Linked DNA regions of Homo sapiens: region 1 is linked to region 2. The links are contacts of gene promoters, found by promoter capture Hi-C in blood cells and fetal thymus (Javierre and others, 2016). All regions are on one chromosome and are shown on one strand. The core of a region is centred on a gene start or on the middle of the fragment in contact, and the rest is flanking DNA. Distances in the headings are between cores, read along the strand shown. Region 1 overlaps SRCAP (Snf2 related CREBBP activator protein). Region 2 holds the start of ATP2A1 (ATPase sarcoplasmic/endoplasmic reticulum Ca2+ transporting 1).

Evidence for each region. Contacts are between HindIII fragments. The CHiCAGO score rates a contact against its expected background, and 5 or more counts as called.
Region 1: a fragment that was not itself captured here is called in contact with the fragment with the promoter of ATP2A1 in region 2 in 1 of 17 cell types (total B cells); the score reaches 5.0 in total B cells.

What each region holds. Positions count from the first base shown.
Region 1 is chr16:30,704,968-30,708,730 of GRCh38, reverse strand. It overlaps SRCAP (Snf2 related CREBBP activator protein), which reads right to left. Exons shown (of 34, transcript NM_006662.3): 5 at 1,363-1,548; 6 at 1,019-1,159. Among named protein-coding and RNA genes, the nearest start is that of SNORA30, 3.7 kb to the left of the region's middle. The HindIII fragment of the contact is 157 bases long and covers 2,028-2,184 here.
Region 2 is chr16:28,876,644-28,880,813 of GRCh38, reverse strand. ATP2A1 (ATPase sarcoplasmic/endoplasmic reticulum Ca2+ transporting 1) reads right to left here and starts at 2,326. Exons shown (of 23, transcript NM_004320.6): 1 at 2,025-2,326; 2 at 1,698-1,715; 3 at 1,231-1,313. The coding sequence starts at 2,142. ATP2A1-AS1 (ATP2A1 antisense RNA 1) reads left to right here and starts at 893. Exons shown (of 2, transcript NR_046290.1): 1 at 893-1,272; 2 at 1,710-1,857. RefSeq lists silencers at 677-1,026, 1,047-1,096 and enhancers at 1,167-1,940, 3,186-3,275, 3,286-3,355. The HindIII fragment of the contact is 4,054 bases long and covers 1,031-4,170 here.

The sequences.
Region 1 (3,763 bases), core at 857-3,356, 1.8 Mb before region 2:
AACAGCGAGACCTTGTCTCCACAAAAAAATATTTTTAGGCCAGGTGCGGTGGCTCACGTCTATAATCCCAGCACTTTGAGAGGCTGGGGCGAGTGGATAACCTGAGGTCAGGAGTTCAAGACCAGCCTGGCCAACACAGCAAAACCCTGTCTCTACTAAAAATACAAAAATTAGCCAGACATAGTGGCACATGCCTGTAATCCCAGCTACTCCAGAGCCTGAGGCAGGAGAATCACTTGAGCCTGGGAGGCAGAGGTTGCAGTGAGCCAAGATTGCGCCACTGCCCTAGGTGACGGGGTGAGACTCTGTTTCACAAAAAAATTAAAAAAAAAGAAATTAAAAAGAATTTTTTTAATTAGCAAGATGTGGTAGCACGCGCCTGTAGTCCCAGATACTTGGGAGATCGAGGCAGGAAGATCGCGTGAGCCCAGGAGGTTGAGGATGCAGTGAGCTGTGATCGTACCACTGCACTCCAGCCTAGGAGACACAGCAAGACTCTGTCCAAGACAATTAAAAAATAGGTGGCTGTTCCCTAAGTACACATGAGGAAAAAAGCATTCCCAGCAGCATAAAGTCTATGTGTAAATGGACAGAGATATACAAAAGAAAGGTGGGTGTGGAGTGGAAGGGAGAAGGAATGAACATGGCAGGAGGCAAGACCGAAAATACAGACGGAAACTGGGTAGTACTTAAGAAATAATTACAACTTACTATACAGGCAGTGGGAACTTTGACGGAATTTAAGCATGTGCTAAGTGGCACAAATACATTTCAGTAAACACATGCTAAATGCCCTGCAAGGGACAGATGGCCTAGAGGTGTCAAGGAGAACTATTAACAATCCCCAAAGGCAGGACCCATATTTTGCCACTATACTTTTTTATCCATACAACATAAACGTCATTAGAGTTGCCTGAAATTATATTTACTCCCTCAAGAAGTTTTGATCATTCCTACTACCACGCCATCTACCAATCTAATCCAAGGCCATTTTCCTTTCCTGATCCCCACTGTCTACCTTCTCCACATTGCTCCAGAACTGCCTGACATCCTTGGCCATGGTGGAAGCAATTCGACGCAGCTTGGCCTGCTCCTCCCTCCGGGCCCGTTCCTCTTTCTGCCGCTGCTCCTCGTGGTGCCGGATCACCATGCGCACCACCTGTGGGAATGAAGACCCAGGGTGAAAACACTCAAAGCCAGACTTCCCCACCCAAAGGCAAAGAAAATAATCAAGGCCAAGAAATCTGGAAAATCAAGAGTTTGCTCTTAATGCCTACACCATTCTGTCTGGTCCCCTTCCAACAAACCGGGAAGGAACAGACCTGAAAAGGAAAAGGAAGGAAGTCCCAGCGGAAGACCTACCTTCCGGGCCACACCCCGTTTCCAACGGCGCTCCTGAGCAAAGTCAGCAGAGAGCCACTGCATCTCTTCGCACAAATAGTCCCAGTGACCTTTGGGGCGAGGGGGCTCTGGCACCTTAGGCAGCCTCTTCAGTGACCAGAAACCCTCCTTCCGCAGCTCAGCAATCCGAGTCTCGATCTCGGCCTCCTAATCAGGGAGAGCCAGATCAATCAACAGTTCTAAACACACACTCCATCTCACTGCCACGGCTGAATTCCTGAGCACTAAGTGGGCTGAGTGTGTTATGCTTATGTTTAGTCCACATACCAAACTTACAGGCAGGTATCATACTCTCTTCAGAGAAGGGAAAAAAGATCAGGGAGATGAAGAAGGAAAAAAGATCAGGGAGATTAAGTGATTTGCCCAAGATCACACAGCTAGAAAGTAATAGAAAATGTGAATCAAAAATAGGTCTGAGGACTCCAGACAGCAAATTTCATGCTCTTTCCATTATTTAACACAATCTCCACACCCCATAGACATAGGAGAGACTTGGGAAATCATATCCCAAGAGGAGCTTCCCAGAGGAGTAGGGAACACATACTTCCCTCTTGATTCTAGATACAAGGGGTCATCATCATTGTAGAATTCTACTTACTCAGAGTATTTTCATGATGCATTAAGCTTAGAAATATGCTATAATGCCCAACTGACACACTGTTGTTTTTAAAAATACTACTTTTGTAAAAATGCATATGTTTATGTAAAAAATACTGAAACGTTATACGTGAAATGTTTAACACTGATTAGGTGTAAAAAAGAGTGGTCATTTTTACTAAAGCTTCTACACTGATTGTCTTTTATTTAAAAAGCATTTAAAATTTTTTTGACAGAGACGACTCAAAAAATTCAGGACAACTGCCTTATTTCTTTTTCTGAATCTCACTCAGAAATCTGAGTGAGATTTTTCTGGGTCTCACTCTGCTGCCTAGGCTCAGGTTATCTTCCCAACTCAGCCTCCCAACTCAGCCTCCCAGGTAGCTGAGACTGACTATAGGCACATGCAACCATGCCCAGCTAATTTTTTTGTATTTTTCGTAGGGGCGAGGTTTCACAATGTCAAGGCTGGTCTGGAACTCCTGGGTTTAAGCAATCCGCCTGCCTGGGATTCCCAAAATGCTCAGATTATAGGCGAAAACCACCGCACCCAGCCTCTGTCTTTGTTATTTCTGTCCTCTCCTGATAAAAACTAAATCAGAGAAAATGACAGCCAGAGACCAGACAGGACTAAATGGCCTGACAGTGAAGGAAACATCAAGAAAGACGTGGATATTAGACCAGCTGCTCTCAAACTTGAGGAGGCACCGGAATCATCTGGAGGACTTTTAGAAACAGGTTGTGCTCACACCTGTAATCCCAGCACTTTGGGAGGCCAAGGCGGGTGGATCACAAGGTCAGGAGATCGAGACCATCTTGGCTAAAACGGTGAAACCCCGTGTCTACTAAAAACACAAAAAATTAGCCAGGCATAGTGGCGAGCGCTTAGTCCCAGCTACTCGGGAGGCTGAGGCAGGAGAATGGCGTGAACCCAGGAGGCGGAGCTTGCAGTGAGCCGAGATCATGCCACTGCACTCCAGCCTCAGCGAAAGACTGAGACTCCGTCTCAAGGAAAAAAAAAAAAACCCAATTGTGGCCGGGCGCAGTGGCTCATGCCTGTAATCCCAGCACTTTCAGAGGCCGAGGCTGGCAGATCACAAGGTCAAGAGATCAAGACCATCCCGCCAACATGGTGAAACCCCATCTCTACTAAAAATACAAAAAATTTAGCCGGGTGTGATGGCGGGCGCCTGTAGTCCTAGCTACTCAGGAGGCTGAGGCCAGAGAATGGCTGTGAACCCGGGAGGCGGAGCTTGCAGTGAGCCAAAATTCTGCCACTGCACTCCAGCCTGGGCGACAGAGCGAGACTCCGTCTCAACAAAATAAATAAATAAAATAAAAATAAAAATAAAAAATAAAAACATTGCTGGGCCCTACCCTCATAGTTTCAAATGGGTCGGTGGGTGAGAGGTACCAAGAATTTGCATTTTTTTTTGAGACAGAGTCTCACTGTTACCCAGGCTGGTGTGCAGTGGCATCATCTCAGGTCACTGCAACCTCCGGTTCCCAGTTCAAGCAATTTCCCTGCCTCAGCTTCCTGAGTAGCTAGGACTACAGGCCTGCGCCACCACGCCAGGCTAATTTTTGTATTTTTAGCAGAGATGGGATTTTGCCACGTTGGCCAGGCTGGTCTCGAACTCCTGACCTCAGGTGATCCACCCGCCTCGGCCTCCCAAAGTGCTGGGATTACAGGCATGAGCCACCACGCCCGGCAAAGAATTTGTGTTTCTACTAAGTTCCCAGGTGATGCTGATGCTGCTGGCCC
Region 2 (4,170 bases), core at 1,077-3,576:
AGGAGCCAGCAGGAGGGCCGGGCACCGTCGGGGCGCTGTGGCCCCACATCCGTCTGAGGGTCTGTCCATCCACTGCAGGTCCTGCCACCGCCTTACTCAGCGGGATGGGCGCGCACAGACTTGCACCACTTGGGGGATTAGCTGGGAATGCTTTCAGGTTTCCCTGACCAAGCTGCTGGCTTAGAAGCGAAGCTCAGGCCAACCCCCCGCACAGCCACATCCATCCCACGGGAGCCAAAACCCGAGAGGAAAAACCCTGTGGTCTTCGCAGGCGGTCTGGCCCCCGCAGCCCTCCCCCTCGGCCAAGGCAGGGAAGCTCCGGTTTCACGAGGGAGCCGGAGCGGGGATAGGGTTACGGGGCCTCCTGCGCGCGCCCCGCCCCAGCTGTTGCCACCGCCAGGCAGCAGGCAAATGTCAAGGAGCAAATCTGAGAAGGGAGAGGAGAGGCCCTGCCAGCTTGTGCTTAACGCGACGGGGCCTGCGTTCGGAGACCAAGGCACAGGGAGGCTTTCGTTGCCTCCAGAGTCCCCAGCGAGGCTCACATGCTGCGGAAGAACCCGCGACATGCAGATGGACCGCGGGATGGGGAGTAGCCCCCAGGGCGGGAGAGGAGGCAGAGCCCTGGAGATGCCCTGCGGGGGTGGGGGTGCCTAGGGAGCGCGGGGAAGGGCTAAGGCCAGGCTGGGCGGGTAATGAGGGATGCCAGTGCCCTCCCTGACCGGGCGCCGGGCTCCTTGGAGTCATCATCACACCGCCGCGCTTTCCCGCCACTAGGAGCGAGTCCTCCCCTCGACCAATCAGCGTCAGGAGGCTGGGGAGGGCGGGGCAGGGGCGCCGACGGGCGCGGGGATTGGTGGAGCGGCCGTCCGCCCGGCGCATGCCGGGAGTGGCAGTGGCCCCCCGCGCCGCAGCCGGCATCGCGGCGGGACCCGGAGCCCGGAGTTCGGGTGGGTAACCCGAGCTCTCCAAGCTCTTGAAGCCGCGAGGGTGGCTTAGCTTCGGTGTTTTGGCTGAGAACACCCTTAAAGCTTAAAATAAAACCTGCCTCTGGGGTGCAGGGGAGGAGAGAGGAGGACGCGAATCACACCCGCTGCTGCGCGCCAGCCCGCCCCGTCTGTACAATGGGATGCTCGGGACTCGGACGGGAGGATCCAGTGACTGCGAGCCCCGCATTCGCCCGATCCCAGCCTCACACCCCCAGCCAGCCCCCAGAGACCCTCCCACACTTACGAAGGAAATGCATGCGGCCAGGAGGAGAATCCGCACCAGGAGGTCTTCAAACTGCTCTATCACCAGCTCCCACAGGGTCTTCCCTGGGGGAGGAGGCAAGGGGAGGGCCCCGGGTTAAGGTCTAGTGGGTGAAGGTCTGGGATGGAGCGCCCTGGACTCCGGCCTGCAGTGGGGAGGCTCTAGGGTGGTGGGCAGACAGCTTGGTGCCCAGAGAAGGGCTAAGAAGCTCGCCTGGAGTCCAGAAACAGACTCGGCAAAGTGGGGGGCAGTTCAAGGGTTGGCTGCTTCAAGGAGAAAGCGCCTGGGAGACTTCTGCCCCGGACAGGACTCTAACCTTTAGGGAGGGAGATTTGCCTTTTGGGAAGGGATATTTGCTCAAAGAATCTAAAGAGGCAGGGAGGAGGGAGTGGGACAGGGCGGGGTGGGGGGTGGTCATTTATGAGAGTTCAGGGATTCCAGTAACTTACCTTCCTCAGCAGGGAGCTCTACCCAGGAAAAAGAAGAAAAGGACAGATTCATTTGGGGTTCAGCCTCATGCCCCCCACACCCAAGACTTTGTGGCTAAGAGAATCAGGCCACCTTGAGGTTCATCAAGTTCATCCCATTAAAACCTCCCAAAACTCTGGATCTCGGGACTCTGTTTTCTCAGTATCTTCTTCCCCCTGCGAGCATTGGACAACGGCCCAGCTCTTCCTTAAGAAACCCTGAAGGGAGAAACGCGTGCATGCGTGTGCGTGTGTTTTGGGGGTGCAGGAGGGCATTAATTACCAGCCGCTCTTCCAAGGGACACTTACCATTGAGGCCGTATTTCTCCAGATTCCGCTTAACTTGGTCCGGGGTGAGGCCCGTGGTCTCACTCACCCCAAAATAGGCCAAACATTCCTCCGTGGTTTTAGCATGAGCGGCCTCCATTGTGCTCCCTTCCTGGGGGCCGGGGCCGGTGTGTTCCTTCCAGGGGGTTCCCACTCGTGGGGGGTCTTCCTCAGTGTGTCCAACTGCCTGTCTGCCTGGGTTTCTTCTTTTTACTCTCCTGCCCCCTCCAGGTTTTTCTTCCCTCCACAAAGCTCTGACCCCCGTCCCACTTGAGCAGCCGGCCACCCCCCGGCCCCCAGCTGGTCCTTATGAGGGAGCAGGGGGAGGCCGGGCTCCCCCCTCCACCAGATCAGGGATTGGCTGGCTGAGACTCCAGCAGGAGGTGGTCAGAAAAGAGAGATATTTCTGCTGACAGAGGGGGAACAGTGGGGCTGCAGCCTGAGATGTCACTCATGAGGGACGCAAAGGTAGCCCCAGCCCCAGGGAAGTGGGGTAGGGAGAGACTTCACTTTCTGTCATCTGCTACTGACCCTGCCCCCCCATTGCCTCGACTTCCCCAGCTGCATTGAATTTCCCATTCCAAACTCATCCCCCCAGTTCTTCCCGGAGCCCTCTTCCATCCCCGGCCTCACCTGTCCCTTTCCTCACACCCCCCTTCCTGCCTCATCTGCCCGGAGCCTGTTTCCATTGCCGCAGTCTCCTTCCTCCTCACCCCATTTGCTGAAGCAGTGGCAGAGATACCCCAAGCCTTTGGGGGACTGATGAAGGGAGAACATCTTTTGGGGGCTAGAGGAAGTGAGTGGCTCCTAGAGGGACAAGGGGAAGTGAGGGGAGAGAGTCAAGGGGACAGGGCCGAAGATGGTAACCCTACCCTAGGGAGGGGTTGCCACAGCCATCAACAAGGGATTTAGTGTCCAGGCCCTGGTGAGCAAAGCCAGCACTGCCTGTCTCTCCCCAAAACTGCCCCCCCCCTTCCCCATCGCTCTAACTCAGCCTCTGGGAACAGAGCCCTGAGGGCCCCCCCATCCTGGATAGGGAATCCCCACCCCACCCCCAAGAAAATGGGACACCAAGGCAGCCAAGTAACCCAAGAGGCTACAGAATGTGCTGATGGCAGAGGGGGAGGGGTAACTGTCTCAGGATGGGGGCAGGGGTCACCCCAAGTCGTGCACTGAGGGTCACCTCATCCCACACTGTGCTCTAACCAACGGGGTTTCTGTGGCCAGCCCCAGAGGCCTGTGGTCTGCGCTGCACTCTGCCCTGCTGCATCTGTCCACGAGGGGAACAGGATCAGGCCCATGCTGTGTGCGTGCAGGAGCTAGGCAGACCCCACAGAAAGGTGTCGGGGCCTGGGGAAGCTGGACCAAGCAGGGGCTCCAGACCAAAGGAATGGGGAAGGGTGGACTTCTGGGGACAGGTCTGGGGGAAATAAGGACAGATGTCTAGACCTAGGGGGAAAGGGAGCAGAGACACAGAGCCACCAGGGTCAGAGGGAAGTCCGAGCAGCAGTGGGGAAGAGGGACAGCAGGGAGCCAGGTGGGCGGGGACCCCGGCGCTGGGTGCAAAGCCACAAGTTGTTGCTGAATGCTGGCCTTGGTGTCAGCTTCCTCAGAGAAGCAGCTGCTCTGAGCTGCCCCTCCCCACCCCTGCTCCAGGATGGGGGCGTCTCTTGGTTACCACCAGGGCAGCTGCTGGAGGAGCCGAGGGAGGGTACCAGGGGTGCAGGAAGGGGAGGACAGGCAGGCAGAAAGGCTGGATGAGAGTCAGGGTGAAAGGTCAGTGAGGGGAAGGGGCCTGGTGCCCTGGGCTCAAGTCCGTCCTCTGTCTAGGCCTGTTTCCTGAAATGAGCAGAGGCATGTGGACTTCCTAAGTGTGGCTTCTTAAGGCTGCTTTCCATTCTGGGGCTCAAACTCCGAAGCAGAGGACAGAATAGGAGACAGCAGAGCAAAGAAAAGGGAGGCCCCCACTTTTGGGGAGGGGGATGGCAGCAGGGGTGGATGGAACTTGAGGGTTCAGCCTCCCAGATGCATCCCTTCTGCCTGGACTTGGGTGAGGCGCGGCCTCCTGGGTGAGTTGAGGACAAGGTGCTCCTTCCTGCCTCCTTTTCACAGTTCCAACAAACCCCTC